Linked DNA regions of Homo sapiens: region 2 is linked to region 1. The links are contacts of gene promoters, found by promoter capture Hi-C in human tissues and cell types (Jung and others, 2019). All regions are on one chromosome and are shown on one strand. Each heading gives the region's core, a stretch centred on a gene start or on the middle of the fragment in contact. The rest is flanking DNA. Distances are from core to core; before and after follow the strand shown. Region 1 holds the start of NOVA2 (NOVA alternative splicing regulator 2). Region 2 has its middle 9.3 kb from the start of IGFL3.

Region 1 (5,897 bases), core at 2,123-4,622:
ATGTTTAAGACTGATAAGTTAGAATACATGCAAAGTTCTTAGGACAGTTGCCATACCCCTTTGCTAGGGAATCTTCCCAGCAGCCCTATGTAATTGGACTATTTACCCCTGAGACTTGTCATAGAGAGGAGAAGGCCCTTGCCTGAGTTCACATGGCTAAGAAGTGGGAAAGCCAGAATCTGGATGTAGATCTGTCTGGGCTTTTAACCACCAAATCATAACAGTCATTTAAAGGGGATATTGGCCAGACACGGTGGCTCACGCCTGTAATCCTAACACTTTGGGAGGTCGAGGCGGGCAGATCACCTGAGGTCAAGAGTTCAAGACCCACCTGGTCAACGTGGTGAAACCTTGTCTCTACTAAAAATACCAAAAAATTAAAAAATAAAAAATAAAATAAAAATAAAGGGGGTATTAACAGCAGCAGCAACATTTTCCAAATTAAAGAATGAGAGACTCAGAAAGGGTAAGGGCATGCCCAAGTCACACAGCATGTAAATGGCAGGGCCAGAACTCAAACCCAGGCTTCTGTAAGCTGACCTTCACTCCAACGAGCCCCTCCATATAGCTCTGCCAGGTTGGAAGGAAAAGGCAGGTTCGGGGATCCCCTGCCCCAGCTTGGTGGGGGTCTCTGATGTCCCTGACTCTGGCCCCTGCCCAGACTAGGGTGACTGCTCCCCTGAAAGCTCTGGGGTGGGGGCACAAGGGTGGCATGGATGATGGCAAAGGGTGCAGCAGCCCCCTCCGCCAGCCTCTGATTGGGGCCCTGCAGTCCCCCAGGATTTGGTGCTTGGAAAGCTGACGTTGGGTTGCTATGGTGATGGGTTTGGGGCGGTTGCCATGGCAGCAGAACTAGCCCGGGTTTAAAAATATCTAGCAGGAGGTTTGTGTTTGTGTGTGAGTGTGAGTGCGTGACCGACCGTGCTGTTGTGTGTGTCCAAACGGGAGGGCTCGATGGGGGGAGCGCAGGGTTGGGGCTGCAGGCATGCCTCGGGGGTGGGGGCTGAGCGGCACACAGCTTTCCATGTGTGTTGTGCGTGTCACTGAGTGGCCCGTGAAGTCCAGTTATTGTGTGCGTTAGCCTATGTGGGCCGTGTATCTAAATGTGTGTGTTGTGTGTGTTTACCCAATTTGTGTGCAAGGAAAGACTTAGTCTGTTCGTCAGTCTATACATCACATGTCGCTGATATGTCTTATGTAACATAGGCCATGGATGTCCTGTGGCTTTGATCATGGATTTGTAACTTTTCCGAGTGTGTGGGGCCAAGTGTGGAGCTGTCGTGGCTCTGAATGTGTGTACCTGGGACATACCTGCATATTAGATGTGTGTCTGTCTATTTGTGTATGAGAGCCTGTGTTGTGGCCTTGCGTCTGCATGACTGAATGTGCATTACAGATGAGTGTGTATGTGTGTGTACGTGTGCCTATCCCCTATAAGTGTGTCTGTGTGACTGTGTTGAGACCGTGCACCTGCAGCAGGGCCAGTGTGACTCTGTGTGTGTCACACAGAGGGGGAAACTTCACAGCTAATTTCATGGATGTTGGGATATGTACCTGTGTGGTGTGAGGCTATTTGACTCAAAGGGTCTAAGGTGTGGTACTCAGCCTGACCCCCGTATCTCCCTATATCCGTCTTGCCTCTTCCCCATCTCCATGGCAACCAGCTCCTCAGCTCCCTCCAGGAAGATGGAGGGGGAGGATCCAGACTGCAGTGGACCACAGCCCCCTCCCATCCCCCTTGGCTCTGGGGACAATGGGGGGGAGGGGACAGATGGGTAGCCACCCCATCCACCCCAGGCCATCTGCTACCCTCCCCCATCCTGGGGACCTGAGAGCATGGCAAGGGAGGAGCAGGGGGGGGTTGGAGCCGATCCCCCTGCCGCAGATCACGCAGTGGCCACAATTACCTGCATCCAGACCCCTTCTGAGCCTAATCTTGCCTCTGACCAACCCAGGAAGGAAAGATTCCTTGGAGGTTAAGAACCCAGGGAGAAGGAAATTCTTGCATCAAGGAACACAGAATAATAGCAATGATCCATTCCAAAGAAAGGCACCCTAGTTCCAATGACTTTGGGCTCTGAAATTGGACTTGTCCTGCGTTCTCATCCCAGTTTCTCTCTCTCAAGCTGTGTGCCCTTGAAGAAGCCACCCTCAATGTTCCCAGGCCTCCACTTTGTCATCTGAAAACAAATTTTTCTTAATGACATGAGTAGTAATACTGTACAAGGGCCAAGGCTGTTTTGTTCTCTATTGTATCGCAGCATCAGGGACAGTGCCTGGCACTTAGTAGGTAGGCCCTGAGTGCTGTTGTTTGAATGGAGAGCCAGTTGTGCCCCAGGGCAGGTGCTGCAGGCTGCAACTCCAGCTCAGTGAATTCAATCCTCTGAGCCCTTTCAGCATCACGGTGTTGATTCTTCAAAGGATGGATGAAAGATTTGAAGGGGAATTTCCCAGCTGAAAGGATTGAAAAAGAGTGAAGTGAAATTTCTTTCTCTTTCTTTCTTTCTTTTTTTTTTTTTTTTTTGAGACAAGGTTTTGCTCTGTCTCCCAGGCTCGAATCTAGTTGCTTGATCATGGCTGACTGCAGCCTCAAACTCCTGTGCTCAAGAGATCCTCCCACCTCAGACTCCAGAGTACCTGGGGCTACAAGCATGTGCTACCACGCCTGGCTAATTAAAAAAAAAATTTTTTTTTTGTAGAGATGGGGTCTCACAATATTGTTGCCCAGCTCGTCTCAAACTCCTGGGCTCAAGTGATTCTTCCGCCTCGGCCTCCCAAAGTGCTGGGATGACAGGCATGAACCACCGCGCCTAGTCGAAATTTCTTGTCTTGACCAAGTGAAGTCAAAGTAAGCTCCTAAGGCTGTTTCCTCATCTGTAAAATAGGGATAATAAGCGTAACTCACAGAGCTGGTCGCTCTGGGGAGTAAATGCGATAACGTCTGTGACGTGCTTGCTTGGAACCGGACCTGGCACACAGTAAGTGCTCAATAAACGTTCATTCAAGGTGAGGAGTGGGGACGGCTTGGAGGAGCCCGGGGTCCTCCCAGCAGCCTGGGGGAGTCGGGTCCAGCTCTCTGCCGCCGGGAGGGGCGTGGCCAACCCAGAGGGACGTGGTCCAGGCTTCAAGGCTGGACCAATGGGGGCGCCGAAGGGCGTGGCCCTACCCGGCATGGGCGTGACCTCGTTGGGTGGGAGGGGCCAGGCGCTGTGGGAGCCTCCGGGAAGAAGATGCTCGGGCCAGCAGCCACCGCCAGCCCCGTCGCCGCCGCCGCCCGCGCCCGCCGCCCCCCGGGCCCCCACTAGCGGCCGCCTCCGCCTCCCACTCCGGCCACGCTCCTCCGGCCCCCCACCCCGAGCAGGGTCTGGGGGGCTCGGCCCTCTTGCCCCAGGGAGCCAAGAAGAAGCGGGGAGTCCCGTCCCCCCAGTGGCGCGTCCAGTCCCCAGCCTCTGTGGTCCCAGGAGAGACCCCACCTCTCAGTTCTTTCCCGGCCCTATCGGAGACCCCCCTCGGCCCTGCCATCCTGCTCACGGCCGCTCTCCAGGCTCTGTCAGCCCCCCGAGAACCGGCTCCCCCCTACCCCCGCCTTCCCTCTCCGGGGCTCCCCCTCCCCCATCCCTCCACCGCCCCCTCCCCCTCCCACCTCCCCTCCCCTCCCCCTCCCCCGCCCCCCGCCCCCCGCCCCCCCCCACCATGAGGATGATGGCCGCCGGCGCGGTGCACGGCCTCTTCACGGCCTCCGCGGCCCCGCAGCCGCCGCCGCCCCCGCCGCCGCCGCCGCCGCAACCCCAGCCTCCCCAGCAGCCGTCGCCGCCGCCACAGCAGCCGCCGCCGCCGCCGCCGCAGCCGCCGCAGCAGCAGCAGCCGCCGCCCCAGGCCCCCCCCATGGAGCCCGAGGCCCCGGATTCCCGCAAGAGGCCCCTCGAAACGCCCCCCGAGGTGGTCTGCACCAAGCGCAGCAACACGGGAGGTGAGAAAGGGCTGCGGCTCGGGGCGGGGGAGCGGGCAGGGGGCCTCGCCTTTCTCCATCCTTTCCCCCCCTCCCGTGGCAGGTGCAAGGGCTCTGGGGAGGGGAGAGACACCCCTCCCCGAGGCGGGGGACAGAGCGGGGAGTTGAGGAGGGGGCTGGACCCCCTCCTCCTCTCGCTGAGGCCCGGGGCTGGGAGCTTTGTCTGCGAGGAGAGGGGTGGGGGGGAGGGGGTGATAAGTGTCCTTGGGGGGCGCAGAAGATGGGGGGCGTGGGAGCCTCAGGGCAGGTGTCTGTGTGTCCTTGAGGGGTGTGTGATGTGACCCTTTCGGAGCAGGGGTGTTCCCCGAGCTCGCGTGTCCTGGCTGGGGGAGGGGAAGGAGTAGAGGCCTGTGGACCGGGAGCTTCCCAGCCTCCCTCCCTGGGGATGTCCTGAACAAGGGTTGTCCCAGATGGAGGCTTGTGTGGCCCTGGCCGGATCGTGCGTGGGGACAGGCTGGGTAGGTGTGTGGGGTGAAATGGAGGAAATGGTGGGTGTGTAAAGCTAGGTGGGAGAATGTGAGGCTAGGACAGGTGTGTATGTGTGTGCGTGTGTGTGTATGTGTGCCCTCTACAGCCTGGATGTGTGACATTAGGGATCAGGAATATGACAGCATAGGGGGGTGTATGAGAAAGACAGGGGACAGGGGCTGGGCTCCATGTTTGAGACCCTCCAGCGGGTACGTGTGACAAGGAAAGGTGTGTGCTTGTCACCCCCAAGGGGGCTGTGGCAGAGTGTGACACATGAGAGGGTGTGTGTGACATGCAAGGAGGTGTGTGGGGGACACCGAATGGGCTGGCTCTGGGTGTCAGCCAGAAGAGGCCGTGTAGATCAGAGGAAAGGGGTCCAGTGTGTGTGACACAGGCGTGGCTGGTGAGGGGATGTGACAAGAAAAGGGTGTGGGTGTGACTCCAGAGAGGCTGTGGCTGGGTGTGACACATGGAGGTGTGCAACAGTGACATCAGAGGGGGTGTGTGCAACAGGGAAGGTGGGTGTATGACGAGGGAGAGGCTGGGGCTTGTGGGTGAAACGCACGAGGGTGTGTAAAAAGGAGAAGGAAGGATGGGTCCCCATGTGACAGGGCACGTGTGCATATGACACCCAGCTGTGTGTATGGGTGTAACAAGGAGAGGTGTGTGTGTGAAATGGCTGAGTGTGTGACACCAGAGATATGGGGATGATTCTGCATGTGTTTGACAAGGGAGGCTGTGTGTGTGTCCGTGTGTATTGGAGATTGCCGAATGTTTGACACCACGGAAGGCAGTGTGAGGGAAGAGAGGGGCTCTCCCTGGGTGTGTGACCCAAGGAGGTGTGTGTACCAGAGAAGAAAAGCCGAGCTGGGAACTCTAGGTGCATGCCCTGCCGTGGGGGGCTCAGGGAAGAGGTGGGGTTTTTTGGGGTCCTCAGAGCCCTGTCCTCTAGCTCCCTGGTAGGAGGGAGACCCCGCAGCGGACAAGCCCCTCCCCGCGGTCACCTTGCCAAAATCTCCACTTCCTCTGGCCTTTTCCTCCGGATGGGAGAGGGATGGCTTCAGGCAGAGTGCACCCTTTCCTCTCCGCCAGGCCTGGCAGTGGGTGGGGTGGGGGCCTCCTACCTCCTCCCTACAGATGAATACAAGCCGACTTTCTTCCTCCCATCCTAGCCCTCCCCCACCTCCATCCAGGTGGGACAGGAATCAGGGACCCCCTGGATGCCTGTGAGGGTGTCCAGCAGAAATTGGAGGAAAGGGAAGTTGGGGGAGGGGATGGGAGGGAGTTTCCTGTCCTTCTTCCTGCTCCCCCACCCCCAGCACACACATGAATATGTCCCCGACTTCCTTCCCTCCTTCCTGCCCCACTGCTGTTCCCAGTCCTGGAGAGGTCAGGGACCCAGGAGGTCCCTGAGCCCAGC
Region 2 (5,897 bases), core at 969-3,468, 140 kb before region 1:
TGAACCTCAGCATTCTCTCCTAGACCATTTGTTTGAAATGTGAGTATCTACTTGCTATTCTGGTTTTCTCTGTGGGGGAGACAAACATACCTGCATCTATTCAGCCGTTATGATTCATCTCCAAAGTCTATTCCAATTTATAGAAGTTTGAAAGGCTGCCTCTAGACTATCGGTGGTTTAATGTTAAAGACATTTATGAACACTAAACTTCTCTTTAAAATTTTTTATTGTTTTAATTGCCTCCTGTTTACCTTGTTTATAAGAAAAGGATGCCCACCCTAGGGCTGTGGGGATGGCAAAACACAGGACGTTAATTCTGGGTGGATAAAATCAACAGTAGATTATTAGCCCCACGTATGCTCACAGCCTGAGGGAGGACACTGCATGCTAAGTATGGCCACAAAGGTTGCATTTAGGAGCACCTAACAAGCAGGGGCTAAGGAAGGCAGGCTCTGTAGTGTCAAGAGAGTGAGGTGGTCCCTGGTTCCTGCAGGAAGAAGTGCTATCTCCATTCTGGGGCCTGTAGTCCCAAGCAAGATTCATTTTAAAAATGAACAGATGGTAGTCCGGGCGCGGTGGCTCACACCTGTAATCCCACCACTTTGGGAGGCTAAGGTGGGTGGATCACGAGGTCAAGAGATCGAGGCCATCCTGGCCAACATGGTGAAACCCCGTCTCTACTAAAAATACAAAAAAATTAGCCAGGCTTGATGGCACATGCATGTAGTCCCAGCTACTTGAGAGGCTGACGTGGGAGGATCCCTTGGGCCCAGGAGTTTGAGGCTGCAGTGAGCTATGATTATACCACTGCACTTTAGCCTGGGTGACAGCACAAATTCTGTCTCTAAAAAAATCAAGCAAGCAAGCAAACAAACAAACAAAAAACAACAAAAAAGAAGGGACTGGAAACCACCAATTCAATCAGAAAAAAAAATTGACTTTTAAGAGAATTCTTCTTGGCCTGGTGCAATGACTCACACCTGTAATCCTAGCACTTTGAGAGGCAGAAGTAAAATGATCACTTGAGGCCAGGAGTTCAAGACCAGCCTGGGCAACATAGTGACACCTCATACCTACAAAATATCTACAAAATATAAAAATTTAAAAAGAGAGAAATCTTCCTAACTGCAGCCTCAATTAACCTTTATTCTCTAGGTATACTGAAAAACTTACTGAATAGGCTTAGCTCAATTAAAGCTTAAAATTATTTTAAAAATAAATAATAAAGTACCTTACATAATGAGAAAAAAATAGTCAAAATAAAGCTCAAGATTTTAAGGCTTCATTTTAGAATCAAATCCTTGCCTACTTTTACTCCAATCAATTAAGTTTATGCCAAACCAGTATATAAAATTTTTACTAGTTATTATAATTGCCTAATTTAATATAAGATAAACAAGTTAATTAATTTAACTTGTGTAAGTTGTACAATATAAATAATTTAATATAAGTTAAATTCGAGTGTGAAAAGATTTACTGGCTCTATTAAAACTAAAAATAATAAGCAAGGTAATGGGTATGTTAATTAGCTTGATTTAATCTTTCCACAAAGGTACCACTGTAGGTTGGTATGACTTTCCCAGAACTCCGTTACATGAATTAGAACATCACATTGTATCAAATAAATGCACACAATTATAACTTGTCCATTAAAAAAATACTAATTGGCCCGCTTCAGTAGCAAGCACATGTAATCCCCACAACCCAGGAGGCTGAGGTAGGAGGATTCCTTGGGGCCAGAATTTCGAGACTAGCCTGTGCAACAGAGTGAAACCTCATCTGTAAAAATTTAAAAATTGTTCTAATTAGAATAATACTAATCAAAAATTGCTTTAACTAAAGCAAATGCTTTGGAAAGATTCAATATATCTGAATCAGCAAAGAGACATTGTTCTTATTTGCTAGAGGCAAAGCAATGTATTTTTTTAATTACTAAAATCTAGGATTTCCCAGTCAGACTATTAGGTAAATGTCCTTAAACTCACAGCATTTTTACAGAAAACCACAAGTAGATATTGCCAGCAATGCATTATCAACGGTGTTGCTGCCAGAAAGACAACGAGAGCTCTTTTCTGTAAGCTCACACTCACAGAGAAAATTATTTGGTATGTCTTAAAAGACTGGGAAATGAGGAGATATACCTAATGTAAATTACGAGTTAATGGGTGCAGCACACCAACATGGCACATGTATACATATGTAACAAACCTGCATGTTGTGCACATGTACCCTAGAACTTAAAGTATAATAATAAAAAAAAAGATTGGGAAATGAACAATCCAAAAATAGAATTAACAGTCCCACTTATAACATCAACAAAAGGAAAAATGGACCCATCATCAGTCACCAAGACCTGAGAACAGAGAGTGGCAGCCCCTTCACACAGGCGGCAGAGCAAGGAAGCTGTCAGCCGGCGAGCCTCCTGGAGTATACCTGAGATGGGCAGAACTGGGGACATCAGTTCTCTACAGCAGCCCTGCAATGAGGGGCTGGAGTGGTATAGAAAAAATTCCAACGCTTTTTGCTGGTAAGTGGCTCTACTCATTCATTTATCCCTGTCGCTGGTTCCCTTCTTGAAGCTTGAAAATAATCTGAACTTTCCATGTCAAGAGCAGCTGGCCTCCTCCCATACATTAATTTTCTGTATTGGCTAGGTATTGGCTGCAAACACAAGATTAAATTACACAGAGAGTCGGGTAGTGAAACTGCTCCCACTCAGGCTGAGTCACCAGATTCACCCTGAGGTGAATCTGAATCAGGCTGAGGTTTCTGGGGTTGGCTGTTAGCTTGGGTCTGCATAGCTACCTCTCAGAGAACACACTGGCCACAGCTCCCAAGCTGTAGCTGTTTCTGCCTCCCCTGACCCAGAACTGCTACTTCCCTCAACATTTCCAGTGATTCGCTGCATTTCATTTTGTCTTGTGTTTTCTACTGACGCCGCCTTATTTTTGTTTTATGTGCCTTACCTGATATTTTGGGGGTTATTCACATTTTTAAAATGTATTTTCATTTTCCCTGTAAGAGAGAGCCTGTGTTTCTGGCTTGCAAACCAGGCTGGAGATGGCACCTTCCCCAGAGCTCAGGAATTCTGGGTGAGGATTGAGTGTGGGGAATGTCATGAGATTTAGCCTGCTCCTGTAGGCAAAAGGACCTTTTGAAACACACAAGTGGGGATAGTTAGGTATTTCATACACATAACATAGTTGTGATACGAAAACCAGAGAAAGATAATCACCAAATATTCTAGGACACTGGTCCTCAATATTAGCATGCACAAGAGTCACTAGGGCTATGGATGAACATAGGTGTGATACAAATGCCAGAGAAAGATAATCACCAAATATTCTAGGACACTGGTCCTCAATATTAGTATGCATGAGAGCCACTAGGGCTATGGATGAAAATGCAAATTTCTGGGCCTTACTCCCAGAGATTCTGATTCTGTAAACCTGTGGGGAGTCCAGGAAACTGCATTTTCAAAAAGCACCTGTATTAGTCAATTTTCACACTGCTATGAAGAGCTGCCTGAGACTGGGTAATTTATAAAGAAAAGTGGTTTAATTGGCTCACAGTTCCGCTTGGCTGGGAAGGTCTCTGGAAATTTAAAATCATGGCAGAAGGCAAAGGGGAACCAAGGCGTATCTTACATGGTGGCAGGAGAGAGAGAAGGAGAAAGTGCCACACTTTTTAACCATCAGATCTCAGGAGAACTCACTCACTATCACGAGAAAAGAATGAGGGAAACTGCCCCCATGATCCAATCACCTCCCACCATGTCCCTCCCTAACATGTGGGGTAATTCAAGGTAAGATTTGGGTGGGGACACAGAGCCAAACCATATCAGCACCCATGACTTTAATAAATGGAGTTCGCCAATAACTTCTGTGAAAACAAAGACTAACCAAATAAGAAAGTAAAGGCTATCTATTCTACAACAAAGAAGTCAGCCACCATCACTTCCATTTTGGGAGAGACTCAAAGACCAGCAGAGGAGTAGGAAAGCTTTATAGTGGAAAAGGTATCACCCTTTTTTTCGCATGTTCCCTGATTGGAGGCTGTTGGCATGGGGAAGCTGAGGATAGCTAACTAGATGCACAGCATCCTATGGGATTGGTTTAGGGTACGTATTTGGCTTTCCTACGTTGCTCCTAAGTTAGAAACAGGAACAAAAATTTGGGAAGTTGTCAGTTATTAATAAAGTCCTGGCCATTTGGAGCTGACTGTTACTGGAGTTACTGTTTAGTTTCCTGGATTGTTACCAGAGAAAGTCTGACTTCCTACAAGTGTGACTTACAGCAAGTGGCTTCCTGGGCTGTTTATTGTAGAAAAGTGGGTTGATTTCCTAGGCAGGCTGCTGTAGGTTATGGGTCAGAGTTCTGTTTTTATATGTGGTCTGGCCATTGTCTGTATATTTTGTCTCTCATCTCTAAGAAATACAGCCATAAACCAAGCTCTTTTTGTAACACAGAGCAGAACTTCAATACAGGGGACTGCTTTCTTCATTATTGCTGTCATCTATTTATTGCTGTTTTTTGACAGTGATGATCTCAAGGCTAAAACGGCTGAACACCCCATTTAATTAGGGTAGTTCAGGGCTCTAACTTACATGCTTTACACAACCATTGCCTTCTTAGACATGGCAGATAACAAGCATGGAATATTATTGCTAGTCTTGGCTTTGTGGTGTAAAGCTGGTTTTCATACAGCTCCCAGAAAGCTCTCTATAGACATCAGTGGAGCCAAAAGTCTTCAAGCTTTATCCCATCTTATTTCCTGCTTCTCTTGTGCCCATGGGTCATTGTCTTTCCTGTGACAACTGAGGTTAAAGATAAATCTTGGATTTCTCCCTTTATGGCTTCCACAATGCTTATCTTCTTTGTCGTAATCCTGGATATCTACGTGGATTCCATTTGTTCAGTCAAAATGGAAGTTTCCAAATGTCCCCATGATTGATCCTTTCCTGTTTTTATTAGTGCTTTGGAAATTTCTGAATACATCCAACAACAGTCTGACTTCAGGCTATGAACAAAATGGCATACCAGGAAAGTGCAGAACACATCCTGTCTGGAGGAGTGATAGTGAGTACTAGGTCTTCATTTTGTCTACCAACGTCTTTTCATCTCCCTCTAAGAGAGGACGGAACGCTTTTTGCCTCTGTAGAATCATTCTATGATGTGTTGACCAGCAGTCTGGGTCTCATCTCAGATGTATTTCACACACTCTATGACAGATGTGTTTTAGTCATGATATTTATTGCTGCCCTGATGAAAAGATGGAATGCAATGGGATTTTTCTCCTATGGGTGCACCCAAATAGAAATTCTCTCTCAATTTATTAATAGACTTTTTCTTTTCTCCAAGAAAATTCCATTTGTATTTCAATTGGTATTAAAACAAACTTACAAGTGTTTTGAAGGAATTGACCTCTTTCCTAACATGCACCTTTCCACTCTGAGCAGCAGCTCTAATGTACTGTATTTCCTTGACACCATTACCAAGTATGAGCCACATCATCAATTTGATAGCAGATTTGTAAAAACCAAACCAAAACATTACATTACATCCAGAATGTGATGATTCTTCCAAATCACTTTCAGCCACTGGCAGCCATCACAGCGACAAGCTGTCTACTCCCACTCCTCCTCTGCAGGCTTAAGCTATTAGAAAATCTATTCTCTAACATATTTGAAAGTTCTAAGGTCAAACAAGTTTTAGGGCTGTTTGATTCAGCCACTCATCCATGTCCTCAAGGTCCCAGCTTGTGTTCATCTATGCTTTGTGGTCCTGACTGTACTGGTTTCGCCTCCAGGCTCCTGGCACATGGATGGAACAGTTCTGGTATCACATCCAAACACAGCAATGTCCAGAGATCCAAAGAGATTCTCAGTCTTTTTCTTA

What was found. The method cuts DNA at HindIII sites, captures the fragments that hold promoters and counts their contacts. A contact is called where the count stands out against the background at its distance.
Region 2: a contact is called between a fragment that was not itself captured here and the fragment with the promoter of NOVA2 in region 1, in 5 of the 25 tissues and cell types used here (IMR-90 fibroblasts, lymphoblastoid cells, mesenchymal stem cells and 2 more).

What each region holds. Positions count from the first base shown.
Region 1 is chr19:45,971,340-45,977,236 of GRCh38, reverse strand. NOVA2 (NOVA alternative splicing regulator 2) reads left to right here and starts at 3,372. Exons shown (of 4, transcript NM_002516.4): 1 at 3,372-3,970. The coding sequence starts at 3,886. RefSeq lists a silencer at 3,047-3,206. The HindIII fragment of the contact is 35,305 bases long and covers 1-5,897 here.
Region 2 is chr19:46,112,446-46,118,342 of GRCh38, reverse strand. It overlaps a transcript of IGFL2 not described here and the pseudogene LOC100533846. Among named protein-coding and RNA genes, the nearest start is that of IGFL3, 9.3 kb to the left of the region's middle. The HindIII fragment of the contact is 4,320 bases long and covers 59-4,378 here.